Linked DNA regions of Homo sapiens: region 2 is linked to region 1. Evidence: promoter capture Hi-C in human tissues and cell types (Jung and others, 2019). All regions are on one chromosome and are shown on one strand. The core of a region is centred on a gene start or on the middle of the fragment in contact, and the rest is flanking DNA. Distances in the headings are between cores, read along the strand shown.

Region 1 (4,852 bases), core at 204-2,703:
AGACTCCATCTCAAAAAAAAAAAAAATACAAAAATTAGTCAGGTGTGGTGTGGTGCATGCCTGTCATCCCAGCTACTCGGGAGGCTGGCACAGGAGAATTGCTTGAACCCGGGAGCAGAAGTTGCAGTGAGCCCGAGATGGCACCACTGCACTCCAGCTTCGGCGACAGAGCAAGACTCTGCCTCAAAAAAAAAAAAAAAAAAAACAAAACCCTAAAGGGTGGCAGGGGAAGGATTAAAAAAAAAAAAAAAAAAAAAACCACTAAATTCAGAACATTCTAATTGCCATTTCCCCAGCAGTCCTCATTTCTGAATCAATTTCTGGCCTGAAATCAAACAATCACTTCACCAGGTGAATCTTTCTGGCAGTTACAGGGGCTACTCTACAAATAAATATTTACTGAACAGCAGTCGAGGGTACCTCACTCTGCTAGGCTGGCAAGGAATACAAGAAGTAAAACTGTCGTCCTTGTAAGACATATATAAAAAGATCAAAAACACAAATGTAAAATAACAATTCAGAAGTTACCTAGACACAGGAATAGACCATGTCTACTATGAAAAACAGTGTCTTTGACCCAGTTTTTGAAGACTCGCTAAAACTATACACTCTCCCATCCCTCCATGATTAAAAACTAAGCTCTGTATCCTAACGTTTTTTCTGCTGCCACTTTCTTTTCTCCTTTAATTGCTAGAGAAAAGAGTATGCTAGAAGGGTCAGGACTAAATCTCAAGAGGTGCAGTAGTTTCACACACGGGTGCTAAAGAGTCTGGTAGTCTTTCCTTACTTCATTCATTTATTCAACAAGTAATCATTTAACACCTATGATGTGCCAGACACCATGCTAGGCAAAGTGAAAACGACGGAGACAGACATGACTCCAATTCTCACGCAGCTTTCAATCTAATAATCTATATTCCACTTAACTGTACAGTTAAGAACTGACTTATTACCTATGAAAGAAACCCTGAGAATCTCAGAATCTAAAGGGACTGCAGGAGATAAATGTCCTCGTTTTTCACATAGGGTCAATGAGGCCCAAAAGTGACTTGCTTAAAGTCACTATGCATCAGTGACAGTCAGGGACTAGAACCCAGGCCTCCTGAAACTCCAATCAGTGTCCTACATGCTCCTCTCCCTGAGGGGAAGCAGGTACATGGGGGAGGGAAGGAAAAGTAAACCCCATCAAATAAAGGCCAGATGTCAGTCTTCCCCTTCTCGAAAGATGGGGGAGCTAAGGTCAAAACGGGGTAGGAAGAGGTCGGAAGCTGCCTCAGTTTCCCCACGGAAAAGCGGCCACTCAGCCTAGCTATAACACAGGCTTCCCTCCTGCGATTCCTTCCAATTCCTCCCGCCCTGCCTTGTCGAACTCCAACCCGGGACCCAGAGAGCTACCGTAGAAAATTACTCCTTCACTCACAAGGACTCGCACCAGCAACGCCATGTTCCTCAATAACCATTTCCGGGTGAAGAGTGAGTTTCCGGTGTCCCCTTTTCTACGTCCTCCTTTTGCCGGCGAAAGACTGGCAAGGGGGGCGCAGGCGCAAAGAGGTCGCTACGCGCACGCGCTGTTGTTTTCTCGGCTGTGCACCAGGCTGTCGTGCCCGGGCACGCTCTCCCTGCTGTCTCCCCCACTACACGTAACAGTGGTTCAAATCCTTCCCCCACGCCTGTCTCCTTGACCCCAGACCTCGGGGCTTCTCATATCCCTCTCTTTATTCCCCACCTAACCCAGCCTCACTCCTCAGCCCCTCCTTCCCAAACTCCACCCCAACACTTTTCAATGGAGGTTGAAAAGAACAGGACTTTAGGAAATCCCAATCTTTAGAAAGAGCCAGAAGACCGGGCGCGGTGGCTCACGCCTGTAATCCCAGCACTTTGGGAGGCCGAGGCGGGCGGATCACCTGAGATCAGGAGTTCGAGACTAGCCTGGCCAACATGGCAAAACCCCGTCCCTAACTAAAAATACAAAGAAAGTAGCCGGGCATGTTGGTGTGTGCCTGTAATCCCAGCTACTCTGAAGGCAGAGGTTGCAGTGAGCCGAGATCGCGCCACTGCACTCCAGCCTGGGCGACAGAGCAGGACTGGACTCTGTCTCAAAAAAAAAAAAAAAAAAAAAAAAAAAAAAGCCAGAGAAGGAGGCTAAGATAAAAGAATACGGGGGATACCAGACTCCTGAAAGTCAAGGCAAGAAGGCGGTCATGTGCCGATCTGAAGCCTGGTAGAGGAAGAAACTTTTGGGATTTGTGGTTGGTTGGTTGTTTAAGGGAAACATCTTTGCATATTGATAGGAAAAGATTAGTGAAGAGTATACAGGGCCGTGCCCGGTGGCTCATGCCTGTAATCCCAACACTTTGGGAGGCCGAGGCAGGTGGATTGCCTGAGGTCAGGAGTTCAAGACCAGCCTGACCAATATGGTGAAACCCCGTCTCTACTGAAAATACGAAAAAAATTAGCCGGGCATGGTGGCGTGTGCCTGTAATCCCAGCTACTTGGGAGGCTGAGGCAGGGAATCGCTTGAACCCGGGAGGCAGAGGTTGCAGTGAGCTGAGACTGGGGCACTGAACTCCAGCCTGGGTGACAAAGCGAGACTCCGTCTCAAAAAAAAAAAAAAAAAAAGAGTATACAGGAGAATCAATCAAAGAGGCAAGGAGCTTCTTGAGGAAAGTGGCAGAGAACGGCCTTGGTAGAAGACTCCTCTTCCATTACATCCCAAGAGAAGAGAAGACAAAGTACTGGTGCTTTGGGGGTTGAGGGAGCAGAGGGGCAGGATGTTGAAGGACTTCTTTCATTTCATTCAGTCAACAAAGACCTATTGAGTCTTCCCTATGTGCTGAACACAAGACATACTGGCTTCATGGAGTTCTTAGACTGGTGGGGGAGGCATAGGAACCCAGTGAAAAAAATTAAAACTGGGGAGCTACTTTGGTTAGGTTGGTAAGGCCTCTCCAAGAAAGTGACATGTAAGATGAAATCTAAAGGAAGAAGAGGAGCTAGTCATGGGAAATAACTTCACTCGACTATTTTTTTAATTAAATTTATTGATTTTTATTAATTGACAAAAAATATATATTGTGTACAACAGGATGTTTTCTTTTTTCTTTTTTTTTTTTTTTTTGAGACAGAGTTTCACTCTTGTCGCCCAGGCTGGAGTGCAGTGGCTCAATCTCGGCTCACTGCAACCTCCACCTCCCAAGTCAAGCGATTCTCCTGCCTCAGACTCCCAAGTAGCTGGGATTACAGATGCGCACCACCACGCCTGGCTAATTTTTGTGTTTTCAGTAGAGACGGGGTTTTGCCATTTCGGCTAGGACGGTCTCAAACTCCTAACCTCAGGTGATCCACCCACATCGGCCTCCGAAAGTGCTGGGATTACAAGAGTGAGCCACCGTGCCCCCGGCCAGGATGTTTTAAAATATGTATACATTGTGAAATGGCTAAGTCAAGCTAATTAATATATGCATTACCTCATATTTTTGTGCTGGAAATGTTTAAAATATGTTCTTTAAGCAATTTTCAAGAATACAATACATATTCATAGTGGGTATAGTCACCATGTTATACAATAGATCTTTTCTTTTTTTTTTTGAGACGGAGTTTCACTCTTGTTGCCCAGGCTGGAGCGCAATGGCGTGATCTTGGCTCACTGCAACCTCTGCCTCCCGGGTTCAAGTGATTCTCCTGCCTCAGCCTCCTGAGTAGCTGGGATTACAGGCATGCGCCACCACGCCCAGCTAATATTATATTTTAGTAGAGACGGGGTTTCTCCATGTTGGTCAGGCTGGTCTCGAACTCCCGACCTCAGGTGATCCGCCTGCCTTGGCCTCCCAAAGTGGCCTCCTGAACTTATCTCTCTTAACTGAAATTTTGTATCCTTTGACAAACATCTCCTCAGCCTCTAGTAACCACCATTCTACTCTCTACTTCTGTGTGTTCAACTTATATTCCACATATGAGAGAAATCAAGCAGTGTTTGTCTTTCTGTGCCTCATTTATTTCTCTTAACATAACATCCTCCCAGTTCATCCATGTTGTCATAGATATGAGCATTTCCTTCTTTTTTTTTTCCTTGAGACAGAGTCTTGCTCTTGTTGCCCAGGCTGGAGTGCAGTGGCACAATCTTGGCTCACTGCAACCTCTCCCTCCCGGGTTCAAGCAATTCTCCTGCCTCAGCCTCCCAAGTAGCCTGGACTACAGGCATGTGCCACCACACCCAGCTAATTTTTATTTTTAGTAGAGATGGGGTTTCTCCATGTTGGTCAGGCTGGTCTTGAGCTCCCGACCTCAGGTGATCTGCCCACCTTGGCTTCCCAAAGTGTTGGGATTACAGGTGTGAGCCACCGCACCTGGCCAGCATTTCCTTCTTCTTTTAGGCTGAATAGCATTCCATTATATATATAAATCACTTTTTTTTTTTTTTGAGACAGAGTCTTGCTCTGCCGCCCAGGGTGGAGTGCAGTGACACAATCCCAGCTCACTGCAGCCTGTACCTCCTGGGTTCAAGCAATTCTTGTGCCTCAGTCTCCCAAGTAGCTGGGACTACAGGCACGTGCCACCATGTCCGGCTAATTTTTGTATTTTTAGTAGAGACAGGGTTTCACCATGCTGGCCAGGCTGGTCTCGAACTCCTGGCCTCAAGTCATCTGCCCACCTCTGCCTCCCAAAGTACTGGGATTACAGGCATGAGTCACTGTACCTGGTCATAAACCACATTTTCTTTCTTTCTTTCTTTCTTTTTTCTTTTTTTTTTTTTTTTTTTTTGAGACGGAGTCTCACTCTGCCACCAGGCTAGAGTGCAGTGATGCAATCTCAGCTCACTGCAACCTCCCCCTCCCAGGTTCAAGCGATTCTC
Region 2 (4,435 bases), core at 1,075-3,574, 490 kb before region 1:
TGAACCGGGGAGGTGGAGGTTGTATTGAGCCGAAATTGTGCCATTGCACTTCATCCTGGGCAACAAGAGCAAAATTCCGTCTCAGAAAAAAATAATGCCTTTGTCTCCTATGGTTGCTTGCTTGATTGAGTTAGATAATCCACATGAAGGGGTTAGCAGAGAAACTAACAATTAGTACTTGATAAACATTAGCTGTTGTGATTATTGTATTCATACTTGCAGGAGCCTCACCTGTCCCTTCAACCCCACCCCATTTCACTTTCCCAAGAGCAAGTTAGTAACAGGGACAGGGCTTACATCCAGGCCTTCTGACTCAGCCTAGAATTCCATCCATTCCATCGATCTGCTGCCAAAGAATGTTACTGATTGGGCAATAATTATTTACTTGGTGTGTGGGCACCACTGTTTTTTAAATGAGTGTTTTCATTTGTATCAAACTGGACCTGCTTTCCTCAAGGATTGCCCAAAAGGAGACACAAATTTACTAAACACTTATCAATAATAGAACACCGTGCTAGGCAATTTCCATATACTATTAATTTAATCCTCACAATAACTTTGGAAGACAGAAAGTATTTTCTCTGATTTACAGATGAGGATCCTGAAGCTCAGAGGGGTAAAGTTACTTCTCTGAGGTCACCTAGCTAGTAAGTGGTAGAGCTGGGATTCCAAGCCAGGATCCTCTGTCTCCAAAGCCTGTACTTCATTCAGGACACTTTCCCCCACATTTAGAAAAGCTGTAATTATCTTCCAGTGAGACAGCATAGCAAATGTGATCACTGTCCCTTCCTCACTCCCCAGGTGTTCAAGCAGCCCTGGCCAGGGATCATGCGCACAGTCTATGGGAACCACGAACGCTTTGAGACAACCTACTTTAAGAAGTTTCCTGGATACTATGTTACAGGAGATGGTGAGCCTTAGCTATCCCCCTCTTGCACCTCCCACTAAGACATGTACCTTCCACTTCCATTTTCAGGAAGAGTTGGTGTGTTGCTATAAAATAATACCTGAGACTGGGTGATTTATAAAGAAAAGAGGTTTATTTTGGATCATCATTCTTCAGGCTGTGCAGGAAGCATGGTGCTGGCATCTGCCTATGGTGAGGCCTCAGGTAGCTTCCAATCACGGCAGAAAGCAAAGGGAAAGCCAGTGTTTGACATGGCAAGAGAGGAAGCAAGGGAGAGAGGGAGGAGATACCAGCCTCTTTTAAACAACCAGATCTTACATGAACTCATAGAGTTACTGCAAGTACAGCACCAAGCCATTCATGAGGGATCTGTCCCCCCCGCCCCCCCCACCTCCCCGGCCTTGACCAAAACACCTCCCACCAGGCCCCACCTCTAACACTGGGGATCATATTTCAACATGAGATTTGGAAGGGACAAACATCCAAACTATATCAGTTGGTTAGGGGTAAAGAAAATTAGAGAAGAATGTGTCCTACATGTCAGTATCTGGTTTCTACGCAGAGCTACAAAGACTGTAAGGGCAGGAATGAGTATAGCAGGAGGGGTCTCAGAATGGTGCCATCCGAACTTTGATGTATGAGGAAAGATGGACAATGTATGCTCCTGTGTTGAAAGAGATGGGGCATGTGGCAGTGCATGACTATTATGTCATGTTTGTCTTTATGTCTGGAGTCTGTGTTTCTCCATCTATCCATCTACCAATCCATTCATCCATAAGATCTGAGCACTGTGATCCTGTGCCCAGGCACTGATCATGAATAATGTAGTCAAAATCTCCTCCCTCATGGGGATTCTAGTAAGGGGAGACAGACAAACCCAACAAACATAAATAAGCTTATCTTAGATAGAGATAAATGCTGTTAAGAAAAATAAACAGGGTAGCATGATAGTGTGTGCAGGGATGGCTACTGTACACAGGATCGTCGGAGAAGACTTCTCTGAATTGACATTTGAGCAGAGGCCTGAAGGGTGAGAAGGAAACAGGCATGGGAAAATCTAGAGTAAGAGTGTTTTGTGCAGAGGGACACAGCTTGAGATGTCTGAAGAATGGACTGAAGCCTGTGTGGCTGGAGCGTAGCAAGCAAAGGGAAGAATATTACATGACGTTGGAGACGTACATAATACAGGGAGGGTCTTGTGGGCCATGGTGAGGAGTTTGAATTTTATTCAAAGTACAGTGGGAAACCTTTTTTTTGTTGTTGTTGTTGTTGTTGTTTGTTTTTTTTTTGAGACAGAATCTCACTCTGTCACCCAGGCTGGAGTGCGGTGGCACGACCTCAGCTCACTGCAACCTCCACCTCCCGGGTTCAAGCAATTCTCCTGCCTCAGCTTCTCAAGTAGCTGGGATTACAGGCGGGTGCCACCATGCCTGGCTAATTTTTGTATTTTTAGTAGAGACGGGGTTTCACCATGTTGGCCATGTTGGTCTCGAACTCCTGATCCACCCACCTTGGCCTCCCAAAGTGCTGGGATTACAGGCATGAGCCACCATGCCTGGCCACCTTTTGGGGTTTTAAGCAGGGGAGTGCTAAGAATTGATTTACTGTTTAGAAAATAACTTTGCTGGATTTATGGAGAATAGAGTTTAGGTGAGTATACTATTGGCATGGAACAAATTATCCCAAAAGTTGGCAGCTTAAAATAACAAATATTATCTCACACAGTTTCTGAGGATCAGGAGTCTGTGAACAGTTTCACTGGGTAGTTCTCATTCTGGGTCTCTTGTGAGTTTCAGTCAAGCTGTTGGTAGGGCCTGTAGTCATCTGAAGGTTTGAGTGAGCCTGGAGGACCTACGTTCATGCTTACTCGCATGGTTGTTAGCAGGAATCCTCAGTTCCTCACCTCACCATAGGACTACTCAATACATGGCAGCTAGCTTACCCTACAGCAAATGATCTGAGACAATGCAACCGAGACAAGCTAGGTGTCTTCTACAACCTAATCTCAGAAGTGACATCCTATCACTTCTGCCAAATCCTATGATGACACAGACTAACCCTAGTACAATGAGAAAGAGGACTGCAGGGCTATGAATACCAAGAGGCAGAGATCAGTGGTGCCCTCTTGGAGGCTGGCTACTACAGTGGGCAAGAGTGGAAGCAGGAAGACTTGTTAGAAGGCTATTGCAGAAGGTGTAGCAGTTTGGTAATGTGGATCAGGTATCCTACCGTAGGGTTTTTATTTATTAGGTTTTGCATTTCTTCCCAGGCTGCCAGCGGGACCAGGATGGCTATTACTGGATCACTGGCAGGATTGATGACATGCTCAATGTATCTGGTGAGGGCCAGGGGCCACCTTCCCATCTTATTAACTCTGCTCCTCTGACAACACCCAGCCGAAGCCTTCCGCAAGAGCCCAGGAGTGTCCTTTGGCCAGACCATGTACTAAGTGTAGCATTCAGTTCTGGGCCCAGGTTTTAGAGGAGTAATGAACACTGGAATGTGCCTAGAGTAGGGGAACTTGGATGGTGGGGTGACTGAAAGCATGTCATCTGAGGAGTGAATGAAGGGTCTTCTCCATTTGGCCAGACCAGGACTGCCCCATGGGTACAGATGGAGCATGGGCTGGGGCAGAGCCTGGGATCTCTCTCATGGCACTTCCTTTCCCTTGACAAGGACACCTGCTGAGTACAGCAGAGGTGGAGTCAGCACTTGTGGAACATGAGGCTGTTGCAGAGGCAGCTGTGGTGGGCCACCCTCATCCTGTGAAGGGTGAATGCCTCTACTGCTTTGTCACCTTGTGTGATGGCCACACCTTCAGCCCCAAGCTCACCGAGGAGCTCAAGAAGCAGAGTAAGGAGCCTCCCTGGGCAGGGACTATAGGGTCTGTCTTGGAGGCCCAGTTATCACTGCAAGTTGTTGGGGAGGGGCTAGAGCAAGCTGCTCCCCAAACCACAAACAGATTCCAGGGGGCCCCATGGGCTGATTGCCCTCTTCCTGTTCAGTCTCCACTAGTCTCCCACTAGGATAATAATAATAGCCAACATTTCTAGAATACTTTGTGCCACCGCTAGGCTAAGTGCTTTAAATGAATTACCCCACTTAATCCCTAGAGTCACCTCCATGAAACAGATCTTATTGTTACCTTCATGCTAAAGATGATGAAACTGAGACTCATGGAAGTTAAATCACTTGCCCAAGGCCACACTGCTAGAAAGGTGGCATTTAAACTCTAGCAGGCTCATTCTACAGCCTGAGTTCCATAAGATAAAATGAGAGAGTAAAGAGACAAGTGTGTTGAGAGCAAGAGAAGCAGTGAACCTGAGGCTGTCTCTGTGGGCAGGGACTTGAGGAGGAAACAGGTGGGGAACAAAGCCATCTCTACTTTGATTTTTGAAAAGTCTGGCTAAGGGTGCTGAAGAAATGCTTGATGATTTGTTGGTTACAGTTAGAGAAAAGATTGGCCCCATTGCCACACCAGACTACATCCAGAATGCACCTGGCTTGCCTAAAACCCGCTCAGGTATG

The links. The method cuts DNA at HindIII sites, captures the fragments that hold promoters and counts their contacts. A contact is called where the count stands out against the background at its distance.
Region 2: a contact is called between a fragment that was not itself captured here and the fragment with the promoter of UQCC1 in region 1, in 1 of the 25 tissues and cell types used here (liver).

The regions. Positions count from the first base shown.
Region 1 is chr20:35,410,520-35,415,371 of GRCh38, forward strand. UQCC1 (ubiquinol-cytochrome c reductase complex assembly factor 1) reads right to left here and starts at 1,454. Exons shown (of 10, transcript NM_018244.5): 1 at 1,421-1,454. The coding sequence starts at 1,444. RefSeq lists enhancers at 786-1,609, 1,200-1,299, 1,360-1,509, 1,610-2,432, 1,640-1,689. The HindIII fragment of the contact is 20,339 bases long and covers 1-4,852 here.
Region 2 is chr20:34,922,522-34,926,956 of GRCh38, forward strand. It overlaps ACSS2 (acyl-CoA synthetase short chain family member 2), which reads left to right. Exons shown (of 18, transcript NM_018677.4): 14 at 802-910; 15 at 3,177-3,245; 16 at 3,584-3,760; 17 at 4,356-4,430. Among named protein-coding and RNA genes, the nearest start is that of GSS, 31 kb to the right of the region's middle. The HindIII fragment of the contact is 6,103 bases long and covers 1-4,435 here.